Regions from separate parts of the Homo sapiens genome. Here regions 2 and 3 are each linked to region 1. Evidence: promoter capture Hi-C in 16 types of primary human blood cells and fetal thymus (Javierre and others, 2016). All regions are on one chromosome and are shown on one strand. The core of a region is centred on a gene start or on the middle of the fragment in contact, and the rest is flanking DNA. Distances in the headings are between cores, read along the strand shown. Region 1 holds the start of TBCC (tubulin folding cofactor C). Region 2 holds the start of ABCC10 (ATP binding cassette subfamily C member 10). Region 3 holds the start of LRRC73 (leucine rich repeat containing 73).

What was found. Contacts are between HindIII fragments. The CHiCAGO score rates a contact against its expected background, and 5 or more counts as called.
Region 2: a contact is called between the fragment with the promoter of ABCC10 here and the fragment with the promoter of TBCC in region 1, in 1 of 17 cell types (fetal thymus). The highest score is 5.4, in fetal thymus.
Region 3: the fragment with the promoter of LRRC73 here is called in contact with the fragment with the promoter of TBCC in region 1 in 1 of 17 cell types (total B cells); the score reaches 5.2 in total B cells.

Annotation. Positions count from the first base shown.
Region 1 is chr6:42,744,510-42,749,049 of GRCh38, reverse strand. TBCC (tubulin folding cofactor C) reads left to right here and starts at 2,947. Exons shown (of 1, transcript NM_003192.3): 1 at 2,947-4,540. The coding sequence starts at 2,977. The coding sequence ends at 4,017. It also overlaps a transcript of BICRAL not described here. RefSeq lists enhancers at 1,455-1,504, 1,891-2,854, 2,919-3,128, 3,159-3,238, 3,299-3,458 and a silencer at 1,889-1,948. The HindIII fragment of the contact is 2,174 bases long and covers 793-2,966 here.
Region 2 is chr6:43,425,340-43,429,600 of GRCh38, reverse strand. It overlaps ABCC10 (ATP binding cassette subfamily C member 10), which reads right to left and starts at 2,060. Exons shown (of 22, transcript NM_001198934.2): 1 at 1,844-2,060; 2 at 1,462-1,633. The coding sequence starts at 1,622. It overlaps LOC105375065 (a long non-coding RNA gene), which reads right to left. Exons shown (of 6, transcript XR_007059585.1): 6 at 3,587-4,261. RefSeq lists enhancers at 1,414-1,483, 3,585-4,106. The HindIII fragment of the contact is 12,589 bases long and covers 1-2,248 here.
Region 3 is chr6:43,508,489-43,513,248 of GRCh38, reverse strand. It overlaps LRRC73 (leucine rich repeat containing 73), which reads left to right and starts at 2,903. Exons shown (of 6, transcript NM_001012974.4): 1 at 2,903-3,735; 2 at 4,329-4,489. The coding sequence starts at 3,464. YIPF3 (Yip1 domain family member 3) reads left to right here. Exons shown (of 9, transcript NM_015388.4): 6 at 49-180; 7 at 375-488; 8 at 686-809; 9 at 934-1,417. The coding sequence ends at 1,082. RefSeq lists silencers at 2,746-3,035, 3,056-3,325. The HindIII fragment of the contact is 9,076 bases long and covers 1-4,760 here.

The sequences.
Region 1 (4,540 bases), core at 1,698-4,197:
TACCTTGATTCACAAGCCCTTTGAGATATCATTGAAAGTAGGATGCAGAACTCAGAGCTGCTTGCCTTTTGCTACATTTCCCCCGTAATGCATTCCCCACTCTCCTTCCATCAAAACAGGCACTTACCTCTGACAAGCTGGGATATATTTCAAAGATGCATGCTGAATCCACTGCCCTCAAATGGCAGAGAGAGGATGCAAACACAGCCGGGCAATGCCAGCCATTTCGCAGCCTTCCTACTGTGTTTGAACTCAGAAACAGCTTTATCTCCATTTCTTGACCACATACCTCACAGCCTGCAGCTGTGCAGGGGGGCTGTAAAGAACTGTCCAGCCAATGCTTCACAATGACCGTATCACTCACTGACCCCTTTCCACTACTCCTCACATCAGTCTTTGAAACTGCCCCTAACACACCGGGTCACCTGGGTGACCTGTCAAGCTCTGTTTTTAACTGTTTCCTTTTCTTGAAAGTTCGAACTAACCAACTTCAAGTATTTAGAAACTTCCCAAGTCTACTGGATTGTAGCAAAAACCTGTTGGTAGACAGAAATGAAGTTCTTGAAAGGGTTTAATAACATTCAATTCCACTTGGGATACAGCCAACACTTACAACACCCATAGATTCACTATGCCTAATACCGAAATGTTATCTCACTCCAGCTGCAACCTCCAAGTCCAATAAACCTTCTTTAGCTACAAACGTTCTTAATTTGAGTGAGACAGGTTCAACCTGAAAAACTTAAAAGGTCAGGTTGTTTTTTTCTAGAAAAATAAATCTTCTCTAAAGCTTCTTTGCTTAAATCAACATTTCATAAAATAAAGCAGCTATTGCAATTCCTCCACGACTTGGACAATATAACTAGCTTTCTTGTCCACCAGCTTTCAGACCCACAGTTTTGTGAAATAAACCTGCTTTTCTGGAAAAAAAAAAAAAAAAAAAAAGGGCCAGGCACAGTGGCTCATGCCTGTAATCCCGGCACTATGGGAGGCCGAGGCGGGCGCATCACCTGAGGTCGGGAGTTCGAGACGAGCCTGACCAACATGGAGAAACCCCGTCTCTACTAAAAATACAAAATTAGCCGGACATGGTGGCGCATGCCTGTAGTCCCAGCTACTCGGGAGGCTGAGGCAGGAGAATCACTTGAACTCGGGAGGCGGATAGCGGTGAGCCGAGATCGCGCCATTGCACTCCAGCCTGGGCAACAACAGCATAACTCCGTCTCAAAAAAAAAAAAAAAAAACAAAATAAAACAAAAAAGCAAAAACAGAAGCCTCACCTAATCTGCCCATAAAACAAGACTAGTGAAAACGATGACTATGCACAAGAGTAAGCACCATTGTTTTTCGGCACCCCCTTTTCCATCGGGTGCACGCAGGCACGCGGACACACAAGCCTCTCCCCTGCCCCCGCGCCCCGCCTGCGCGGGGAATCTGCCACACGGTATGAACTGTGCTCTCAGCGGAGAAATACTCTGGCCCAGCAATTTATGTGTGTTTTGTTTGTTTTAAGTGGGAAGGAAAGGAAGAGAGTGGGGCGTGAAAATGGGAGATCAGTTTTAACTCAGATTTAATTCAATGGTTCGCGTTTCCTCCCATCTTTCTCTGCATCAAAATGCAGGTAGATCGGTGAAATTTCAAGTTTCTTGGGTCGTTAAATACCCCAATTTAAACGATGGAGGCTGGGAACTGGGGATATAAGGAGGAAACCTAGGGTTGGAAGGGCGGGCAGGGTTAAAGAGGTTCGGGAGCTCCGCAGATCTGAGCGAAGCATGCGAGGCTGCCGCGCCCGGGCAGCGGCTGCGTCTCGGGTTCTCGCCCTGCCCGCTGCCTCGGGTTTTTGCCAGTGACTGCGCCGTCTTGGCTGCCCACCCACACCTCGGGTTGGTCCCGACTTTAGGCTAGGCCATTCACTTCCGGTGACAAATCCCTCCCACCACCCCTAGAAATAATGTACCGCTTCTCCCACCGCTTTCCTAAGACCGACCGCCCCAGAGAGCCACGGAGCCCGGGGCTAGGGTCTCACCCCAGCGCGGCCGGCGACGCCCAGCTGCGGAGGGAGTGGCCGGGACCGAGCTCGGGGAGGGCAGGGAAGAAAGAGGAAGGGGGTGTGGATCTCACCTTCCCCCGCCCCCACCCCTCCGACTGCAGCAATTGGCCAAAAAAATAGTAATCCTTTTATGGACTCCCCCAGGGCCCCTCGAACCAGGTTGCAGTGAGGAACCCAGTCTCTCCCATCGCAGTGCCCCTTGCCTTCTCCTGCCCTAGTAACTGCCTGCGGGGATCCAGGAGCCCCCAGGCCGCGCCGAACTGCAGTGGATAGGGGGGAGGGGGGCGGTAAGGATGAGGGCTACGGGGAGGCAGAAATGGGTTGGGGGAAGGGGTGGTGGAAGGGAAAAGAAAAAACCGGAGGCATGCAAGCGGCTCCCCAGCCAGCTGTTCCAGCTGCTGCTTCCTCCGGCGCGGGCCAGGCGGTGCAATATTCCCCCCCGCTCCATCTTTCTCACCACTACCTGTCCCCCCAACCCACCACACGCACTCATCCCTCCCACCCACACCCCTAGTAGCGGATCTCCGGCCTGTAAGGGGGTAGTAGGGAGGAGCTGGGGGGAGGGGGAGGCCTGCGAGTTTCTAACCTTGTTCTTATAAACAAACCCACATGTGCAGCTGCCGCTGCTGCAACTCACCCCACAATCCCGGATATAAGTCCTGCCCCTTTAAGAGGAAAAAAAAGATTCCCCCGCCTGCCTCCCACCCCACCCATCCACAAGAACCTTTGTCTTCCCACCCCCATAGTCAGTCGGCCCCGCCCCATCTCCCCGCCCCCTCCGACGCAGAGGAACCAATAGGCGAAGAAAATAAGGCCGGGGATCTGACATCATCATGTTAGGCCAATCACCGGACGCGTTGGTGGGAGGCCTCACGGACAGCGCGCCCGGAGGAAGGAAGACAAGAGAGAGGAAGCTTGAAGCCAATATGGAGTCCGTCAGTTGCTCCGCTGCTGCTGTCAGGACCGGAGACATGGAGTCCCAGCGGGACCTGAGCCTGGTGCCTGAGCGGCTTCAGAGACGCGAACAAGAACGGCAGCTGGAAGTTGAAAGGCGGAAACAAAAGCGGCAGAACCAGGAGGTAGAGAAGGAGAACAGCCACTTTTTCGTCGCCACCTTTGTTCGGGAGCGAGCGGCCGTGGAAGAGCTTCTGGAGCGCGCGGAGTCGGTCGAGCGGCTGGAGGAGGCGGCCTCTCGGCTCCAGGGGCTGCAGAAACTAATCAACGACTCAGTTTTTTTCCTAGCCGCTTACGACCTGCGGCAGGGACAAGAGGCGCTGGCGCGGCTGCAGGCGGCCTTGGCCGAGCGGCGCCGGGGGCTGCAGCCCAAGAAGCGTTTCGCTTTCAAGACCCGGGGAAAGGATGCTGCTTCGTCTACCAAAGTAGACGCGGCTCCTGGCATCCCCCCGGCAGTTGAAAGCATACAGGACTCCCCGCTGCCCAAGAAGGCGGAAGGAGACCTCGGCCCCAGCTGGGTCTGCGGTTTCTCCAACCTGGAGTCCCAAGTCTTGGAGAAGAGAGCCAGCGAGTTGCACCAGCGCGACGTTCTTTTGACCGAACTGAGCAACTGCACGGTCAGACTGTATGGAAATCCCAACACCCTGCGGCTAACCAAGGCCCACAGCTGCAAGCTGCTCTGCGGTCCGGTGTCTACCTCTGTTTTCCTGGAGGACTGCAGTGACTGCGTGCTGGCAGTGGCCTGCCAACAGCTCCGCATACACAGTACGAAAGACACCCGCATCTTCCTGCAGGTGACCAGCAGGGCCATCGTGGAGGACTGCAGTGGGATCCAGTTCGCCCCTTACACCTGGAGCTACCCGGAGATCGACAAGGACTTCGAGAGCTCTGGTTTAGATAGGAGCAAAAATAACTGGAACGATGTTGACGATTTTAACTGGCTGGCCCGGGATATGGCCTCCCCAAACTGGAGTATTCTTCCTGAAGAGGAGCGAAATATCCAGTGGGACTAAGCAGTTGTCACTCTGTTCTTCACTCCTACCAAATACTTTCCACGTTGGACTTTCCCCCTTATTGGGTCTCGAAGTTTACTTATTGTCACACTGTGTATGTTTTCAGCATTTTAAGGCTAGAGATTGTAATGGGCTCCTACTTGTAATTTCCATTAAATTCGTAACAGGTATAACACTAAAGCATTTTTGCTATTTTCGTCATGCCTTTGAGACTGAGTCTTACTCCGTCCCCCAGCGTGGTGGCGCGCTGGGATTACAGGCGCGCGCCACCACGCGAACTTGTATTTTTAGTAGAGACGGGGTTTCGCCATGTTGTCCGGGCTGCTCTCGAACTCCTGACCTCAGGTGATCCACCCGCTTCAGCTTCCCAAAGTGCTGGCATTACAGGCGTGAGCCACCACGCCAGGGCTTTATTTATTTATTTTTACCACAATAGTTTGAAGCAGTAAGGGGGAAGGAGGGTGATTATATTGCTTTGTAATGGTTTGTGATACTTGAAACATCACGGTGCATAATAAAGTAG
Region 2 (4,261 bases), core at 811-3,310, 680 kb before region 1:
AATTAGCCAGGTGTGGTGGCATGCACTTGTGGCCCCAGCAAATCAAAAGGCTGAGGTGAGAGGTTGCTGGAGCCCAGGAGGTTGAGGCTGCAGTGAACTGTGATTGCACCACTGTACTTCAGCCTGGGCAACAGAGGGAGACGCTGCCTCAAAAAACAAAACAACAATAACAATCCCCCCTCCCCCCCGCCACACACACACACACACACACACACACACACACACACAAGAAAGAAAAGAAAGAAAGAAAAGAAAGAAGGAAAAGAAAAAAATATATATATTTCCTAAGATGTGGGGACCCAAGAAAGAACACTGGGCCCTTGGAGGCATAAACTGGCCCCAAGTTGGCCATCAACCAGCCTCATCACCCCTTCAAGTCTCTTTTCCTCTCTGAATCTCACTTTCCTCACCAGTATGGTGAGCAGTGAGTCTCAAGTTAAAGCCTTCTGAGGCCCTTTCCTGTCTTAGATTCTCGATCTCTCTAACCCTTCTCAGCAACACACACAAGGCTGATAAGTGAAGTGAAGCACAATTTCTATTGATCACATGATGGTCTTTCTTGCTTTCCCAGGGGGCGGATGAATCCCTTCCTTGGATAGGAGAAGCTGTGTATCCGCTTGGTCTGGGAGGAATCCTGATTTGTTTCTTACACAGAGACAAAAGTCTAGAAGGGTTTAATCACCTAGCATAGACAGCCTTCTCAGAAGAGCAGCTATTAAAAATTGGCACAGTCTTTTGGGAACTCAGTCTAATGAGAAAGCAAGAAAGACCTCTTGGATAGAGACACTTCCCCCCATCAGACTAGGAACTCCCAAAGGCAGAGACCACACCGTCCTCCTATCTTCTCGGCAGCCAGAATGAGACTAACTTTAGTCATCTCTAGCCATACAAGAACTAAATACAAAATCAAGTTGAGTTTAGCATCCACACCTTATAGCCCTTAATTGGGGAAGGCTTAATGTTTGATTTTGCTCTTCTTGTCTATCTACTGCTTCCTCTTCAGCTGAGCCTAGGTATGCTTTTCTTAATCTGGAAACACTAAGGTTTCATGGGTTGCAGTGGTGAGAAACTGAGCCTACAACTTAAACACATCATCGCTTTTGGCTAAAAACGTTGTTCCCCCAATTCTGCCTCCAATTCATGACAGCTGAGTCCGGGTAGCTGAAAATGGACAATTCTGATGATTTCTGATACTCATCGGACCTTTAAAAACATGCCAGGCGCTGCACTATATGCTTAAATTCATTATCTCATTTAAACCTCCCAACAATGAGACTCAGAGAAGGCAGGTACTTGCCCAAGAACAGCCACATTGCTGCTAAGTAGCAATGCTTAGATTTTATTCTACTTCTGCCCTACTCCAGAGACCTCGCTATTCTGGTGACACTGCCGGAAGATGTAGGCCGCGGGTGAGATCTGCAGGCACACATGGACAGATGCCTTGCGCCCGTCTCTACCCACCTCGGGGTGCCCAAGTAACAGGCACTGAGCACGGCGAGGAGCGCGTGGGGCAGGGCGCTGAGCACCAGCTGGGTGAAGCAGTGGCCTGTGGTGTCCCCCTCCCACAGCGGGAGCGGCCACGCTGCGCTGCTGCCGCACAGCTGGGCCAGAAGTCGTTCCATGGACGCCTCACCTGAAGGGAAAGTTGAGGGTGACGGCTGTGCAGGGTAACAGCCGGCTTTGCCTGCACTTCCCAGCCGGGTCTCCCTGTCTCCAGCCCCGCCCTGGAACCGGGACCGCCCGTCGCTTCCGCCCCGAAGCCAGACCCCGCCCATTCTCGCGGTACCAAGGGTAAAAACGGGAGGAGGTTTCCCCAGTGGATTTCTGGACGCTGGTCACCCACCTTGCCATCTGTTTTTCCCCTCCCGTTTCTCCGCCCCCAGGCATCCGGAACCTCAAACCTGAAGAAGCTGCTGTGCACCGGATTCCGATATCCTGAGAACTGGTGTATGCAAAAAAAAAAAAAGTACTGCCCGGCCGGGGTGCTGGGCCCGCCCCGGCTGGCACCCCACCTAGAGGTTGGAAGACCTAGCCGGCGCTATTCGCCACGCCCATATGCTGGTAGCTGCACGCATGTGCACTGCTCTCTGCTTCGGCTGGCCTTTGCACGCAGGCGCGCTGGTGCAGACGCACAGTTGCGTTTTGGTACGCTTTTGTGGCCTGACTTGCGTTAAGGATCCATCCCTCCCTTAGTGCAACGTCATTTATAACCTCTCACGTGGAGTATTCGCTCACAACTGTGTAAGCTTACTAGTTGGCACAAGCATTGCAATCTCCATTTCTTGAAGAGGTGGGGAGCCGGGCACGGTTGCGCGCCTCGGTAGTCCCTGCGCGCCCGTAGTCTCTGCGCGCCGGTAGATCCCAGGAGGATGGCCTGAGCCCAGGAGTTCGAGAACAGTCCAAGCAGCATAGCGAGACCCCAGTCTCAGATAGATAGATGGATGGATGGAAATTCAAACATACCTGCCCCACGGACAAATAATGCCATTTTGGGACACACTGTTTTCCCTTATTATTCTAGGGCTGCATGACCTTGGACAAGTTACCTAACTTTTTTGAGCCTCAACTTTTTTTTGGGGGGGGGACGGAGTCTCGCTCTGTCACCAGGCTGGAGTGCAGTGGCACAATCTCGGTTCACTGCAACCTCCGCCTCCCGGGTTAAAGCGATTCTCCTGCCTCAGCCTCCCGAGTAGCTGGGACTACAGGCGCGCGCAACCACGCCCAGCCAATTTTTTTGTTCGTATTTTTAGTAGAGACGGGGTTTCACCATGTTGGCAAGGATGGTCTCGATCTCCTGACCTCGTGATCCGTCCGCCTTGGCCTTCCGAAGAGCCGGGATTACAGGCGTGAGCCACCACCCCGGCCGAGCCTCAACTTCTTTATTTGTACAACAGGGACAATACCAATACTAAAGTACTGTTGAGAGAGTTGAATAATTAATTTAGAGTGCTTAGGGCAAGTGCTTTGCCTAGGGTAGTCCTCCAATAAATCTTTTAAGGAAGCAGTGGGAAGAACATAACCTTTATAATTATACGGACCTGGGTTTGAATGCTTTTAGCAGAGGGATGTTGGGCAGGTTACTTCTGCATCTTTATTTTATTATGTTTGTCAGGCATGGTGTTGGTATCCGCCTTTACATAGGTGTGTACAGTGCTTGAAGAAGAAAAGCTAAACAAATGACAATTATGGTTATCCCACTTAATCTCAGTAAGAAGCCCCATATCCCTCAACGTCAAGAATTAATTTTCCTATTTTTAAAAACTAAGAGATGTAGGTTTGCATTTCACAATCTTTAGTAATTAATTAACAGAGTCTTGCTACCTGGCCCAGGCTGGTCTTGAACTCCTGGCCTCAGGTGATGCGCTTGCCTTGGCCTCCCAAAGTGCTGGGATTATAGGTGTGAGCCACTGCACCTGGCCAGGCTCCACTTCTAATTCTAATTCACTTGCTGTTTCCATCACATCTGCAGTTACTTCCTCCACTGATGTCTTGAAGGTCCATCCGTGAAGGTTGGAATCAGCTTCTTCCAAACTTCTGTTAATGTTGATATACGTTGTCCTCCTCCCATGAATCCCATGAATCACAGTTTTTTATTTATTTATTTATTTATTTTTATTGATCATTCTTGGGTGTTTCTCGCAGAAGGGGATTTGGCAGGGTCATAAGACAATAGTGGAGGGAAGGTCAGCAGATAAACAAGTGAACAAAGGTCTCTGGTTTTCCTAGGCAGAGGACCCTGCGGCCTTCCGCAGTGTTTGTGTCCCTGGGTACTTGAGATTAGGGAGTGGTGATGACTCTTAACGAGCATGCTGCCATCAAGCATCTGTTTAACAAAGCACTTGCACCGCCCTTAATCCATTTAACCCTCAGCGGACACAGCACATGTTTCAGAGAGCAGGGGGTTGGGGGTAAGGTCATATATTAACAGCATTCCAAGGCAGAAGAATTTTTCTTAGTACAGAACAAAATGGAGTCTCCTATGTCTACTTCTTTCTACACAGACACAGCAACAATCTGATTTCTCTATCTTTTCCCCACATTTCCCCCTTTTCTATTCGACAAAACCACCATCGTCATCATGGCCCGTTCTCAATGAGCTGTTGGGTACACCTCCCAGATGGGGTGGCGGCCGGGCAGAGGGGCTCATCACTTCCCAGAAGGGGCGGCCGGACAGAGGCGCCCCCCACCTCCAGGACAGGGCAGCTGGCCGGGCGGAGGCGCCCCCCCCCACCTCCTGGACGGGGCAGCTAGCCGGGCGGGG
Region 3 (4,760 bases), core at 1,654-4,153, 760 kb before region 1:
GCTGAGATCAGAGGCCTCCTAGGACTAAATAGAGCCTTCACCCCACAGCGGGAGGGCACCCTGATGGGCACAGCCATTGGCACCTGCTTCGGCTACTGGCTGGGAGTCTCATCCTTCATTTACTTCCTTGCCTACCTGTGCAACGCCCAGATCACCATGCTGCAGATGTTGGCACTGCTGGTAAGGAGCCAGGTGTGGTGGGCAAGAGTGATGTTAAAAAGAGTAGCCAGGCCTTGGTCGGCATCTGTCCTGGGGCCCCAAAGCCTGGAATGGGAGGAGTAGGCCAATGGACCATGTGTTTCCCAGGGTCCCCATGAGGGGCCAGAAAGCAGCCCAACCTGAATGATTTTCCTCTCCACCATCCTCCTTCCCAGGGCTATGGCCTCTTTGGGCATTGCATTGTCCTGTTCATCACCTATAATATCCACCTCCACGCCCTCTTCTACCTCTTCTGGCTGTTGGTGGGTGGACTGTCCACACTGCGCATGGTAAGCTGGGCAAGAGGCTTCCAGGGGTGGGCTGTCCTCCCAGGGAGTTGGGGAAGACAGCCTGGAGCTGTCCATCTCACAAAGAGCCCTAAATGGGAGGGAAGAGCCCAAAGATGGTTCTGCCCTGGGTGGGGGTGTCTTGTCCCCACTCCTCACTTTGGAGCCAGGCCCTTTGAGCTGTATTCTCATGGTCCTAGGTAGCAGTGTTGGTGTCTCGGACCGTGGGCCCCACACAGCGGCTGCTCCTCTGTGGCACCCTGGCTGCCCTACACATGCTCTTCCTGCTCTATCTGCATTTTGCCTACCACAAAGTGGTAGAGGGTAAGTGGCAGGAAGGTCTGGGTGGGGGAGAATGGGAAAGCAGCTGCCTAGAGCAAGAAGCTAGATATGATGGCTGGTGGGCTGGGCCCATCTGATCCTCGCTCACCTTCCATCTTCCTTCCAGGGATCCTGGACACACTGGAGGGCCCCAACATCCCGCCCATCCAGAGGGTCCCCAGAGACATCCCTGCCATGCTCCCTGCTGCTCGGCTTCCCACCACCGTCCTCAACGCCACAGCCAAAGCTGTTGCGGTGACCCTGCAGTCACACTGACCCCACCTGAAATTCTTGGCCAGTCCTCTTTCCCGCAGCTGCAGAGAGGAGGAAGACTATTAAAGGACAGTCCTGATGACATGTTTCGTAGATGGGGTTTGCAGCTGCCACTGAGCTGTAGCTGCGTAAGTACCTCCTTGATGCCTGTCGGCACTTCTGAAAGGCACAAGGCCAAGAACTCCTGGCCAGGACTGCAAGGCTCTGCAGCCAATGCAGAAAATGGGTCAGCTCCTTTGAGAACCCCTCCCCACCTACCCCTTCCTTCCTCTTTATCTCTCCCACATTGTCTTGCTAAATATAGACTTGGTAATTAAAATGTTGATTGAAGTCTGGAACTGCAGCGGCTGATCCAGTGGTCCTCCCTGTCATCCCGCTTCCTATATACTTTCCTACTCAGTCAACAGTGGTAATGTCATATGTTCCCTTCTTCATATCCTCACCCAGGCAAGATAAAGGTGGGACAGGCCAGACTACATAGAAGGCAGTGATTGAATATCACACCTGACCCATGAAGCGGCAGGGAGGCCTCAAGCACAAAAGCCATAAGCCTGATGGAACACTGCAGCCAGCTTGAGTCTGGGCTCAGCTGCTCTCTTGGGAAGCCAAGGAAGCAGTGACAATTGAACAAAACATCCCGACTTAAACCCCGTGTCAAAACAAGGATCTTCTGCACCTGGGCATTGTGTTGATAATTTTCCTGTGGAGCTCTTAATTGAAGCCAAATTTGGCTTTGCCTTGGTGGTACTGGGGCCAGCTCCTTTTAGTTTTTCTGTCTTTCCTCTTAAAACCAACCACCACTCCTAACATAGCACCATCCACCCCCACCACCTCTTTAATATGCTCCACTTAATAAGTTAATTCAGGTGGCTAAGAGTGGGAATAGGGCCTTTGACCTCCCTTCACTATATTGAATATTATATTTTATGTAAAATAATCATCTTAACACTAGTAAATCTGGGTCAGCAGCATCTATCCCTCCTAACAAAGGGACAAACAGAGGTGCCCTTCATTTGTCCTGCGTTACACAAGTGAGTCCCCCACCACCCTGGCCAGAGGACAAAGTTGAGACAGCACCGCCTGCACCGTGCAGTGTGGCTCAGCCGCCTTCACGTCCTCACCAGTGCTCCAGGGCCCTGGCCCTGGCACCTTCTTTGTATTGGCTGCCCCAGTCTCGCGGCACGGACACACCCTCAGATGTCAACAGTGCCCTGCGTACCTGAGAAGGTGTGGCACCAGGACCTTGCATCTATCTGAGGCTCCCCTGCCCTAGGGACCCTATGGGGTACCCTTCTCCCCAGCAGCTCAAGCTGGCTCTGCCCAGCCGTGGCCCCTGGGGCCTCCCTGATGAGGCCGCCATCTTGGCGAGGAGCAAGCGGGGAAGTCCCCATGGGCCGGGATCACCACGCACGCTGCGCCTCGAGTCACGGGGGCGGGAGCGAGGCGCGGCGCGGATGAAAGGGCCCTGGGGCCTTCCAAATAGGAGGGAACAGTGCCCTGGATTCCGGCGGGGGTATGGACCTTAGGAACGGGGAAGGATGGAAGAATGGGCAGAAGCAGCAGTAACCGTGCCCAACGCCATCTCCACGGGGCGTGCCTCCATTCCGCTCCCCGTCAGCCCTACCCACTCAGCCCTGCCGCCTGCCGCCTGCCAGTTGGCTGACCCCACTCCCAAGGGAAGAGCGGCCTATCGCTCCCAGCTCCTTGCCCCGAACCACCCAGTGTACGCGAACCTCGCGGGCCGGCGTGGCCTTGGCCGGGCAGGGGGCGGGGCGAGCGCCGGTGACGCGGCCGTTGCCATGGGAACTCGCCGCCCGCTCGCTCTCTGGAGCTGGAGCCGGAGCTGCCGCCAGCCGCCCGCCTCAGGCTCTCTCTGCCAGCCGTGCGGCCAGGCCCGCGGGGTGGTCGGGGGGAGCCGGGCGGCAGAGAAGGAGGGAGCGGGTACGGCCTCCTAGCCGAGACCGGTAAGCCGAAGCCCTTGAGCCGCTCGCTGCCGCTGCCGCCGCCGCCGCCGCGACCGCGAGGGACAAGGACAAGCGCCGAGCAGCGCCTGCCCAACCCCCGGAACGCGCACCCGCCCCAACGCCCAGACACGGACCGTGCGGGCCGCCCCCGCCCCAGCGCCGCCCCACTTCAGCCCGGCCCGCGCCCTGGACGCCTCCGCACCTCTGGCCGGCTCCGGCTCAGTCCCGGTAGCTCTTCTCCGCCCCCGCCGCAGCCTCCGCCGCAGCCGCAGCCTCCGCCACAGCCGCCGCCTCCACCCCCGGCCCCACTCCGCCCGCGACCCCTGCCGGGGCCCCGACCCCGGCCCTATCCCCGGCCCCGCCCGCGGCCCCACCAACCTCCGTTCCGGCCCCGTACCCGGAGGCCCAGCCGTGGGCACGATGCTGCCCAGCTCCATCCAGATTTCGGGGGAGCCGCTGTCCGGCGCCGAGGTGCGGGACATCTGCCGCGGCCTTCGCGACAACGCCGTGCGCCTGCTCTCACTGCGCGGCTGCCGCCTCTGCGACCGCGACTTTGGCCGCATCTGCCGGGCCCTGGCCGGGGCCACGTCCCTGGCGCAGCTCAACCTTAACCTGGGCGTCGTGTCCAGCCCCAGCCGCATCAAGCAGCTGGCTGAGGCTCTGCGGACCAACCGCTCCATCCAGTCCCTCTTGTGAGTGCGCCCCCTCGCAAGGGGGTCCCGGGCACTGCACCCTTCCATACACTCCCCTGGCACCTCCTGTTCCTCCACACTCCTTCCAGTACCATCCTACCTTCACATGCCTTATGCACATACACCGTGCCTCGGCCCATGCCTTCACAGCACCCTCCAAGCACATGCTTGGACTTTGCACGCGCGACCCTAGCCGTGTTGGGATACCCACCAGTTCCTGACATGAGGTGGGGGCCGTACCTCCCCACCTAATCATCTGCATTTACTTCACTGGGGCAGCTCCTTGGTTCCCAAGGGGGAATATCCCCGTGGGGACGAGAGCCCTGCCCACTGCAGAGTTCCGGTCCACCACCCACCCACCCCTTCTCTGCCCCTCCCTGTGCAATGTCCTGGATCCCTGCCCCAGAAAACAAACCGAATTCTCCCTCTATCTGTATTCCCTGAGAATCTAGAACTTTCCTTCTCCTTTTCCAGGCCTCTCAAGCGCTGTGACTGCCCTCCCCATACCTAGGGCTGACAGAAGTGAAAGTGCCCCTTTCCCATGTAGATAGTGCGGAGGACTGCAGTAACCCTGCTCTCTCACTCTCCTCCAGCCTGCATGGGAGCCCCCTGACAGATGCGGGGCTGGCCTTGCTGAACCCAGCCCTGGCCCTCCACCCTGCCCTCGTGGCTCTGGACCTGGGGGACTGCATGCTGGGTGATGAAGCCATCAACCTCATCTGTGGCCTCCTGCCCCCAGATGGGGCCAAATCTGGTGAGCAGGACCCTGTTGAGGGCTTGGGCTAGTGTGGCAGTGATGAAAATCGAAATGCAGAGGGAAGGGGGTGTGGCCCCAGAGCTCTGATGATGTGGGCGAGAACATCTTTCTACTCCTCTCAGGAAGGGGCAGGACGGGGGGCAGCATGGAGACTCAGGAATCCAGGCTGGGGCAGGCAGAGGAAGCATGGGCCTCCTTAATGGCTCTTGACCTCTATGGTGGGGGTAAGGTGGTGCCCAGCCACTAGGGACACCCCAGAGACACAGGG